2 separate regions of the Homo sapiens genome follow, and region 2 is linked to region 1. Evidence: promoter capture Hi-C in human tissues and cell types (Jung and others, 2019). All regions are on one chromosome and are shown on one strand. The core of a region is centred on a gene start or on the middle of the fragment in contact, and the rest is flanking DNA. Distances in the headings are between cores, read along the strand shown. Region 1 holds the start of ATP2B1 (ATPase plasma membrane Ca2+ transporting 1). Region 2 has its middle 59 kb from the start of LINC00615.

Region 1 (5,789 bases), core at 2,396-4,895:
TTTATGAAAATTATTCCCATAACCATTGTATGTTATTTTCCTGGCAATGTCACCTCAGATTCCACCTAGTCCCAAATAAGCTACTATTAGTACCTTTATTACATATCATGACAGCTACTAGAAAATAATTATTCCCTTCCATCTGGTCAATACTCTTGCCCGAGATGCAAAAACCTAAATGTTTGTTTCTGCTTTCTGATCCTCAGTCCTTTTATTGTTTTTTGCTCATCCATTACAAAATTCCAGAATAAAAAAGTGAAAACATCAATTTTACTGTATTCATGTGTAAAATGTAAGGGAAAAAAACCAAATATTATTTTGTTCAATATTACAGAAGACCAATAGTTATAAGTGGCCGTTCCTTTTAAAACTCATTTCCCATGGTAAGAGACTGTTGCATCTGAAATGAAGTTAACATGTCTGTCAGTCAAAGGAAATTAGTAAATCTTACTCTGAAATCAAGGAATCTATGAAAGTATATATAACAACATATAATTACTCTACATGCAACAATCTAATAGCTCAAATAATGTCCTTTATCCCGGGGCCATATTCCATAGTTCGACAGAGAACACATAGCAGTAAGGGGATAAAACACCTTTCATCTCAGAGTTTTTGGCTAATTTTAGTTTAATAAAGACTTATCTACAGCTCAATAGCCAATGCTTTACATTGTCTATAGAGAAATTGCAAGTGTTGAATGAAACCTTAAATGCAGATAGAAGGGCAGTAATATTTTGCGGTTTGTAAGTAAGACTATATGTAATAATATCCACATCTTAATTCATTACTTGGGAGCTAAATCCCTTTTCTCATGTTACATCAAAAAAGGAGGCTGTGCCTAAAGAGACAGTGTTCCTTATACTTATGATTTGGGAAGGAAGGGAAGGGAAAGAAATCTCAACTGTCACTACAGTAACTCTTTTCTAAGTATTAAAATCTCCATTTATTTTTACATGAGATGCACCTGAGAGGAGCCATGTATACAAACCACTTTTTCTAACATGGTCTTTATTAAACTTTGAATATAAGTACACCTGCTCGAAGTGTTCATCTATATTATTTAAGAACAAGCAACTGTAAAACAGTAAAATCACAAAAGGTAAGTTGTTGGAAGACAACAAAAAAGAATTACTATATCTGATCCTGCGTGTTTATTTTAGAATCTGTTAATAGGCCTACAGCTAAAAAAAAAAAAAAAATTGTAAAGCCACTGTCATACTGGTAGGTACCTTTATTTGGTGGCAATGGCTAGTTCAAACCACCTATTAAAAGCAGCTATTACTTTCCTTCTTTTACCAAGAATATCCAGACCATCAATATTATTATAAACACAAATCAAAACTAGTTTCTCATCTCATCTCAGAATGCTAAAATCCCAAGCTTCAATAAAAAAAAGATTTCCCATACAATTGCAGAAATTTCTCTCAAAAGAGAAATGAGAGAATACAGAAAAATGAAGACAATTCCCCCTTACACGTCAAAATGGGGATGCCAATAATGACAGCTGCGATAAAAATCAAGAAGGCGTACCCCGAATTTTCACCATTTTAATAAAAGAAAATCACGAAATTTTAAATTAAAGGTGGCGCTCTGTCCTCAACTCACCCGAATGTGACTCACTTTTGCAGACTATATGGTAGGAAATTAACAGTTACTTTTCAAAGATCTTTGCAGTTACACCCAAGCCAAAATCAGGACAGAGATCCACCCTTAATTACAGCAATTTAGCTGTCTTATCTAAAGCAAGGTAAAAACTAAAACGTCCTCCTGAAATCATAGCTAAATAAGCCCATTTCATATACTAGCTATCAAAGGTTCCCAATTAAAAAAAAAATGTTTCTATTTACTTCAAATTTGAACTCACCAGGAGGATAAAGAAAAAGAGAGGGGAGGAGGAGGACCCAAATGAAACGCACAAGTACAAAAAGCAGATTCTCCTCCAATCCCTCTTAATTCCCCCAATCCACCCCTGCCACACACAAGGACAGGGAGTCTCGGGAAGGCTGGCATCGGGGCAAGTGGTGAAGGCCCTCCATTCACTCACGTGGGCCACCATCCAAAGGGTTACACACCCTCTGCCAGATGAGAGCCTCATACAAACCAGGCCCTTACAAGTACTTCTTATTATAAAATACACCCACGCTGAACAAAAGCCTTATTTTAAAATAAGACTGTCCTCAGGTGGGGGAGGTTAAACACAACAAAGGCTTCCATGTTGACAGGCAGACAAGTTCAGATATATGCATATACCTACACACGTATGAAAAAAATCTATGTAGCTAATTTATCACGAACAGCAATCGATACCAACAGAAGCCATTAGATTATTAATAAACCAAGAAAAGTAGCGGGCACAGAAGCGAAAGGTGGCTGTCTGCAGCGCTCTAACCCAAAGAAAAGGTAAATATCAGCCTGTCGAGGAGGGTCGAGCCCTCCAAGTACCTGCAGACCCCTTTAACCCACCCGGACGCCCTGCCCTCCCCTCCGAGCCAAGCAGCGCACAGGGTGCGAGCACTCCCAGCGCTGCGAGTCCCGCAGAAAACTGGTGAATGAAATGCGCACAGAGACCAACCTGGCTGGTGACCGCGGCGCAGAACCAGGGGTCGCTAACCAGCTTAGCCACAGGATTCTCCCGCAGGATGGGATAAAGAGAGCACAGCCCCCACCCCACACCCCTGCCACTGGAACGCGGTCCTCCTACAGACTCCTTCCTCAAAAAGGGAGGTGGGGGCGCAGGCTTTTTTCTCTTAAACTAAGTGAATAAACACGAATCGGAAACAACTGTGAACATCCTGGGGGGCCAGACGGAAGGCGTGAGGAGAAAGACCAGGCGGCTCTCCAACTCCCGAGGAATCACCGTCCTGACACGCCAACAATCAACCACCAGGGCCAGGGGCCGACCAGGGGCCCCCGCTCCCCTCCCGCAGTGCGTCTGGGGGGCCGAGGCCAAGGATTAGAGGGGTGACCCTCCCGGGGCGCGGGGAGAGGGAGTGCCGGGCACGGTGCCCTCAAGGTCACCACGCGCCGTGGCGGGGGCGACCGGTGGCGGGATGGGCTGTGGCGCGGCCGAGGCGGCTTCGTGAAGCCGAAGACCTGCGGGTGTAGACCAGAAGCCCCAACAAGCCCCATCCCTCGGGCCCGGAGCAGCGACTCCCAGACTGACCCGGCGCTGAGGTGCACGGCGAGAAGCCCGCTCACCTTCACAATCTCCCGGCAAGAGGCAACCTGCGAGGGGCCCCGACCGCCCCCGTCAGCTTCTCCCGAATCCGGCGCAACCCGCTGCGCACCCAGCTATCAGGATCCCCGCCGCGACGCCCGACCTCCGTGCTCCGCCTGGCCTCCCCCGCAGGTGACCTGCCCCGCCGCCCCCGGCCGCGGGCGGGCGGCGGCCGCCACTCACCTCGCCCGGCAGTGGGAACCATTTTCCGAGGGGGAAGGAAAGGCAGGCTGCGGGAGGGTCGCGGGGCGTTAAGGGGCAGCGGGAAACGCAGAGGATGGGGGCTCCGTCCTCAGCGCGTCCGCAGCCGGCTCGCAGGGCTCGGGGCGCCACGCGGAGGTGCAGCTGCACCTCGGGGATGGGGCGGCCAAGGAGCCGAGAGGCTCGGCGTCCACCAGCCGGGGCTCCCTACTCACGCTGCACTGCGAGGAGGCGGCGGCGGCAGCGAAGGAGGAGGAGGCGGCGCCCGGCCGTCCCCGCCCAGAGCCCGGCAGCCACCGAGTGGCCGCCCGCGTCCCCGCAGGACCCGCCTCCTCGGCTCCGCAGAGCGGCACACAGGGCGCGCCGCGCTCGCTCGGCACGGGCAGCTCAGCCGGCCTCACGCCGCCGTCCGCAACAGCAGCCGCGGGCGGGGTGCAGCCACCTCCGTGAGCGCCGCAGCCCGCCCCACTCGGGGCGGGGCCCGCGGGCACCGGAGAGCGGACGGCCGAGCACGAGGGGGCTGCGCGCAGCTCCGGGCAGGGACCCCGTCTGCACCGGGTGGCCTGCAAGATTGCCGGGGTAGGCAGGGGGAGGAGAACGCTCACCCGTTCCGGTCTGGCGCTCCCTTTTCTCCACACCCACACGCCTCCCGCTCCACGCTGGCGGCGCAGCTGCTCCCGCTGCCACAGCCGCCACCGCCGCCGAAGCTCGCGCCGCCGCCGCTGCCGCCTTGGCTGAGCGCGGTCACGTGACGCGATCCGCGGGGAGCCTGGGGGCGGGCGAGTGCGCGCGCGCGCGCGCGGAGGAACCGCGGCTCGGACCGGGACTGGGAGCTGAGCGGCACTGGGAGGGCGTTTAAGGGGAGGACCCGGCGAGCGCGCCCTCGGCTGGCGAGCGCGCGCCTGGCGATTAGAACTTGCCGCGCGGTCGGGAAAGGGTGGCCGGAGTGAGGGGCGGAGGTGGGGACTTGCGCCTCCGCACGCCCCTCCCTTTCTTCCTTCCCCTGAGCGCCTTGGCTTGCCGCTGCCCCCGCCCCCTCCAGCGCGCCCCTTCCCTCCTGCCGCAGCCTGCGATTGGCTGAGAGGCTCTGACGTCCGTGTTTCCATGACGTGTTGGTGCAGGAGGGAGCGGCGGGGGAGGAGGGGGTGGCCAGGCGCGCGGGGAGGTGACTCCGTCAGTCACAGCTGCTGTTTCGGCGCGGGGCCGGGCCGCTGCCGCGACGTGTGGAGGCAGGAGAGCGATGATTGCCGCAGGAGAAGTGCGGGCGCCCTTCACCTGGGGCCCCTCCCGAACCGCCCCCGGGCCCATGCCCCTCCAGGGCCCAGGAGCGAGCCAGCGGGAGGGCGAGGGCGAGCGCTCCTGGCGAGGACAGATTAAGGCGAACCCCCAGTCAGCGGACATTTGAGCGGCTCCTCGCCGCGTCTCTGCCCCCACTCCAAACCGGACTCGACGCCTGTCCCGGGCCGTGACGCACGCACCGGAGGAAAAAGTGCTTCTCGGCTCGCTCCCTCTTTGGGGAAGAGAGCTCACTCCCCATGCGGGCGCGGGACACTCCATCTCTGTTCCTGCCGGTCGGGTCCGCAAACACCGGGGATCCCAGCTGCGGCGCCCAAAGGGTTAACGCAGGCGTTCGGCCAGTGCAAACCGGCCTCGCAGGATCCGCGCTTAAAATCCGGGTGTTTTCATTTTGGGTTTGTTTCTTCTACTATGCCAAGCTGGTGGCTCTCTTTTAATTCTCTTGTAACATCTCAACCCTGCACCCATCTTTCCTGAGGGGAAAAGGAAACGGGATAACTTGCGGTATTTCGATGCTCAAAGGTAACCGGCGGCTCTGCTCCAACCTTCAAGAGATTTTGCAAGTTGAAAAAAAAAAAAAAACCATCCTTCGTAACATCTACTTAAAAAAAAAAAAGCAAGTTTTCCTTCTTGTACACGCATATACACAGTAAAGATGTGTATCTTACCTAAGATACCGCGCTTCATCTTCATCTAATCTTTATTTGAACTCACCGTCGCCACTGGCCCAGAGACCTTGTCAGTGTTATTTTCAGTATCAGTTAATCAGAACAAAAAGATAAGTTCTGCAATCTTCTTTCTCTTAATTCCAGAACTGGAAAATTAATATTTATATAGCCTCCTCAAAAGCATACAGGCAATAGGAAGTATGGTATTATGTTCACGATCTGATGATAGCATTTGTTTTAAAATATTTTAAAAGATTAGACACAAAATGTGTAAAAGACGTTTAAAAGTGAATAAATATAAATCAATGCTGTTGCAAATAATTTTTTTATCAGTTTATGTATCTCACTAGGCTTGACATTACCAGCCTTCTGAGCTGTGCCCTTGATGTGTAAGATAAACGAAC
Region 2 (5,789 bases), core at 1,259-3,758, 1.1 Mb after region 1:
AGCACAATATTTCTTCAAGGCAGGCAGAGATAAAACAGATCACTTTTCAATAATTTACTCTGAGTTACTAAGATCTTTATTTTTCTTTTTCTCTTTTCTTTTTTGAAGGAGAATATTCAGGTTGATAATCAGGGTTAAAGTACCATGATATTGTAAAAGTCAAATACACAACTACATGCTTCTTTTGCAACCAAAATTTCCTTTATTGTATACATTTAAGAGTTGTGATACTTATTCTACTTCACTGTAAAAACAAAGAAATGTCACACTTAACACCTGCAGGTAGAGACAAGTTACGTTCATGTTAAATTCATGGCAGTAACATAGCATCTTTTTCAGTTTCATTTAAGATTCTGCTTTTCAGAATTCATTTGCCACTACCCGTTTTAATGCCTAGAATTGTGTTAAAGAATATTAGTTCTCTAATCTTCACTTAGTTTTATAATATTTAATGCTCTTTTGACTTCAGAATATTTCCTTAAATAAAAAAGATATACATATATTTGCAGTATATATATTCATAATTGTATATGCTATTACATGCATGCAATATACATATATGTATATATACATTTGCATACAAACACACACACACACATTTCTATGTATTTGCATCTTGACCATGTATTAAATACCTGAGTTTTTTCTCAGTATAAACTTTAGGATATATTCTAGAAATGTTATTAAGAATGAAGAAAGAAGACTGAAAGAGAGAAAATGCATTCTATTCCAAAACTAAATAATATTAGGTTGGCATACATTGACTTTCAATGGCATAAACCTCAATTACTTTTGTGCCAACCTAAAAATTCAAAAGATTTTAGTCTAATGTAATTTTATTATACAATGGAAAATTATTTTAGCAGTTAAAAATACTTGGTAAGATCATCAATGCCATGCATACAGTTGGGGCTACAATAAAACACATCCATATTAATGTACATAAATGCTGAAAGGGAAAATCATGCATTATTTTAGGTTGTAAAGTTTTAAGTTAGAGATTTCTATCTAACTTTTTAGGCCTCCTGAGTCCTGATCCTTCAAGGATGCCTTATAGATTGGTGGTTAACACCATCAAAGATGGAGTAAACAGACTAACCTAAATAGAATCCTGGCTCTGTTATTTAGTACCTGTGTGCCTTTAATTTAGATATGTCTAGTCTCTGAATCTATTTTCCTAATGTAAAATACTACCTAACTCTGCATTTATTCAAAGAATTAGAAGAGACAGAATATGCCAAGTTCTTTTGCACAGAAAGTTTTACATTTTAAGAGCTAGGTAAATGGTGACACATTATTATTATTATCATTATTATTATATAAGAAAAATGAATCAGGCAATAAGATTATTTGGGGCAAAGATGGGAGTAGGGAAATTATAGGTTAGGGAAAAGGAGGGCAGGCTTGTTACTTGTTTTGTGAAAAAAATGATATACTTTAAGGAATTGAATTCATTGAGTAATTTCTAAGTTCTCCATTTTAATTGGGGTTTTTGTTCACTGACTCTGTGATTGTTACTTGGTTCATCTGAATTTTATTTCTAAAAGTCTCTTTATCATGAGAGAGGAAAAATGTAGGTAAAAATGATTGATATAACACTCAAACACTGTCTGCTGTTTTATGTACTCAAACAAAAGTGTTAAGTGTATGCTTCAAGAATAAATTATAATTATCAGCTTTTAGAATAAAGAAAGCCTTCGGTTATAGAATGGTTCTGCCTAAATGATACAAACGACTCAGTTATCTCACTGCTACTACATCTTTTAGCTCTATCAACCTGCTATTTGATACAAAATTAGAAGTGATTTTTAAATATTTCTAAATTCCTCCACTTCATAGGTCAGAGTTACCCCAAAATGAACACTACTTTATGCTGATTTCATTAGTCATAGGGAAGCAACTAAACAAAAACTTGAAATTCTGCAACCTGGATTCACAATCCCCACTCCCTGCTTCTCTATTATCTTAATAATCATATGAGATTCAGAAATTAAGCTGGAACACTCTGATCTAAACTGCGCAAAGTTGAATGCAGTTAAAAAATCTTATAACAATTTCCAAGGTGACATGGTTTACCTTGAAAGTGCTGCATATGTATTGAAAGCAAAGCTTTGACTTTAGGAGAACTATCAGGTTTGGGGTAAACAAATAAATTTCAAGGTTTGAGTCCACAACCTAAAGGTCAAAAGATACATGATGTGGATGTATGTGACACTGCTTTACACTGAAATAATTATGCAGAGATTAACTTCATAGTGATTAAAAAAACTAAAATTGTATTCAAATGAGTATTTCAGATTACTATGTTAATTTGAAACAGTGGAACGTCACTGGTCTCATCTAAGGTAGTATCTGATCTTGTTGTCTCATGACTGAGACAATTGAGGACACAAAGAGAGTGAGGTTGGAGTGAAAGTTTAATAAGTGAAAGAAAAAAGCTCTCCTCAGTGGAGAGGGGAACCCAAGTGGGTTGCTGTTTTTACAGTTGAATCCAAAAGCTTTTATGAGAAACTCCTCTCATCTCTATAGCTGTTTGAGTAACTTCTCTTATCCATAAAGCTGTCTGCATAATTCCCCCTTGCGTATGTAGTTCTGGGTATGTCTCTAGGCAGGCACAATGTGCACTTCTTTTGTTTGTATAAATGTGGGTTTGTTTTAGGTAAGCCCCTCTCCTCCCTGTGCAAGTTCCCATCGTATACATGTCTGAGAAGGGGAGGAAACTTTTCCTGGGTGCCTGCCAATTACACAAAGAACAAAAGGCTTCTGTGTTGGACCATGCCTGCTTTGCCTGCTTATCTGTGCAGGTGCAGCCCAAGTTTTCCCCAGCCTGCTCTATTTTTGCCTGTAGCTGTGATTTTTCAGGCAGGGTGCTTCTCTGAGGACCAGCCTTAACTGTTTACCTAATTGGTGTTTATCCTTTTCTTCTGTATCAAATTGATGGCTGCTAAAGAGTTCTGCAGAAACTAGCTAAGTTACATGATAGAATTTTGTAAGTGAATGTTGCTTTTAAGAGGTTAATGTATTTTTATTTGTTGAGTTCCTGTGAAGATGTTACTTTTTATGTCTATTTGTTACCCGTTTTTCTAACTATAATTTATATTTAATCCTTTGGTAATAATAATTACATTTTGCACAAGTACAAGAAATACTACATTAGAAAAAGACAAACACAAACCATGTCATCTACAGACAGAAATTTTGCTTCATTTGTTTTATTTGCACATGAGCAAACAAAAATGTGGGAGAGAAAAATATTGAAAGTTGTGCTTTTTAAAAATTTTTTATTGCAATAATTGTTTCAGAGTCCTCTTTTTAAATATTCTTGGCTACAAAATCATACCTTTTATTTTATTACTCTTCATTTGATAATATGATTAAACATTTTCTGCTTAAAGTATTTAACATTTGGAAAACACAGAATTTCAACAAATAAAAATTTTAGAAACTTTTGGTTATAAACAGTATTTCATTTATATCATCTACTCAATGGGATTGCTTAGGGAAAAGAGAGTACATACAGCTAACGGACATATTTGATAATTGCATACCAAGAACTTTCTTCTGAAACAACAGCTTGCAATTTTAATGCCCTTTCCTTTAATACATAGTAATGAAAGGGAATCTGAGTTAGATTATAAAATGAGTTTATGAAAGCCCACCAAACTCTGGAGAAAAAACACATCATTACTGGCTCTATGAGTGAACTTTCAGGTAGAGAATGTCATACTCAATGTAAGAGTATATTTTAAAGCTTTCTCTGTAACTTTTCTTCAATTAGTTATTAAACATTTGACACCAGAAATATTAATATACACAAGCTGTCCACAGGAGTTCCTATTTCTACAGAAGAAATAAACATGTAAACAGACACAGAATGTAGCATGTTTTCATAGTGTATAGACATATCACTTTAATGACCCATAAAAGGAAATAACTAACTTGAAAGCCTGAGCAAACCCATCCATCATACATACATAAATAATCCATATGTACATCCACATGGTTACAATTACTGCCTATTGATTCACTGCTTCCAAATATTTATCTTTAGCCAAGACTCTTAGTGAGTTCAAGGTTCAAATATTTAACTATATACTTGCATTCCCATGTAGATGTCCCCTGGGCAAAACTCAAATCATTCAGAAGTTTTTCTGTACAAGTCAAGAAAACTTATTTATTGGCTGAAATAGGAAAAAAAATGGGTAACTTTTATAGTTGTTCTATAAAACACGTGAGCTATCCATGGTCTCCGTCCTGGTTTCAAATGGAAGATATTCCCTGTCTGGGCTTTTGTACTCAACATGGGCACTCGGCAAAGGACAGATAGCGATGACCTTCTTGTGCTAGGACTTGGGTGCTTGGGGATCAAAGTTTATTTTGGATTTGTTCTTACAGAAAAAAAGGAGACCTGAGCAGTAGATTTGATACCACAGCATAATCTGAAGGAACAACCAATCTTACGTATTCTCCTTACCCCTTGGTTGGGACTCAGGGTTCCTTTGTGTACTCATGGTCATCAACTCCAGGTCCTGCCTGTCAGAGTACATCTGTCTTTTTCCTGGACCCTTCTCTCCCTAGAAAATATCTTCTAAGTGGGAGCTTATTTTTCATTGACTTATTTCTACTTTAAATCCAGTCTAGGGAGTGAAAGTCAATATTTTATTGGTCCAACTATTTTTATCTTACTTAGAGTGACAGGTAATTTAAGGTTAAAAACATGTTTCTCTGACCAGATCAAGCTATTTGTCTCCAATTCACAAAATGTTTAATCATAAAAATTCTATCTGAACATTAAATATTATCATGATCCACCTGTGCTTTAAGCATATTTTTCTTCTTTTTATATCTTTGAATTTTCAAAAGAAATACATCCTTATTTTGAAAAATTCATTCATTTCAAACTTTTCTAATTTCCCATCTCTTACAGTCCTTCTTCCATCTTCAATTTTAAAGAGACCTCTGATTTTCTATAACCTTTAAGGCCATGAAAGAATTCCAGTTATTACATTAGAAATGTCATCAATTATGCAAACAAATCAGAGCTGCTGCTAATATCTAGCAACTGTGCAAAATTACCTTACGTAGAGTAAGAAATATCTAAGAGATAAATTTTTTGGAAGGAGATAGTGGAGAATAGAGTTCAGGCTTGGAAAATTGGAGAACTGACTTTTACAGATCCTGGGGGGAAAAGACCAAAGGAAGCTTAGAGATGAATATTCTAGCTTTAAAGAATAACCTGGAGACTTAGAAAGTATGGATGATAGCAATTGAATTCATGATATGGAGTTAGAAGTGGGAGAAGTGGAAGGATATACTACCGACTTTATGCTTTGGATATTTAGACCACTTATTTTTTCCTTCAACTTTTATTAAGTTTGTGGGTACATGTGCAGCATGTGCAGGTTTATTACATAGGTAAACGTGGGCCCTGGTGGCTTGCTGCACAGATCAACCCAATACCTACATATTAAGCCCAGCATCTTTTAGCTGTACTTCCTGATGCTCTCCTTCCCCCAACTCCACCCCTGATAGGCCCCAGTGTGTGTTATTCCCACCCATGTGTCCAAGTATTCTCATTGTTCAGCTCTCACTTAGAAGTGAGAACATGCGGTGTTTGGTTTTCTATTCCTGTGTTAGTTTGCTAAAGATAATGGCTTTCAAGCTCCACCAATGTCCCCACAAAGGACATGATCTCTTTCCTTTTTATGGCTGCACAGTATTCCATGGTGTACATGTACCACATTTTCTTTATCCAGTCTATCATTGATGGGCATTTGGGTTGATTCCAT

Evidence for each region. Contacts are between HindIII fragments. The study calls those that stand out against the background at their distance.
Region 2: a fragment that was not itself captured here is called in contact with the fragment with the promoter of ATP2B1 in region 1 in 1 of the 25 tissues and cell types used here (dorsolateral prefrontal cortex).

Annotation. Positions count from the first base shown.
Region 1 is chr12:89,705,193-89,710,981 of GRCh38, forward strand. It overlaps ATP2B1 (ATPase plasma membrane Ca2+ transporting 1), which reads right to left and starts at 3,646. Exons shown (of 21, transcript NM_001366521.1): 1 at 3,404-3,646. It overlaps ATP2B1-AS1 (ATP2B1 antisense RNA 1), which reads left to right and starts at 3,763. Exons shown (of 1, transcript NR_028138.1): 1 at 3,763-5,789. RefSeq lists enhancers at 2,525-2,614, 2,625-2,724 and silencers at 2,915-3,144, 3,295-4,314, 4,335-4,884. The HindIII fragment of the contact is 9,648 bases long and covers 1-5,789 here.
Region 2 is chr12:90,855,764-90,861,552 of GRCh38, forward strand. No RefSeq gene overlaps it. Among named protein-coding and RNA genes, the nearest start is that of LINC00615, 59 kb to the right of the region's middle. The HindIII fragment of the contact is 3,936 bases long and covers 541-4,476 here.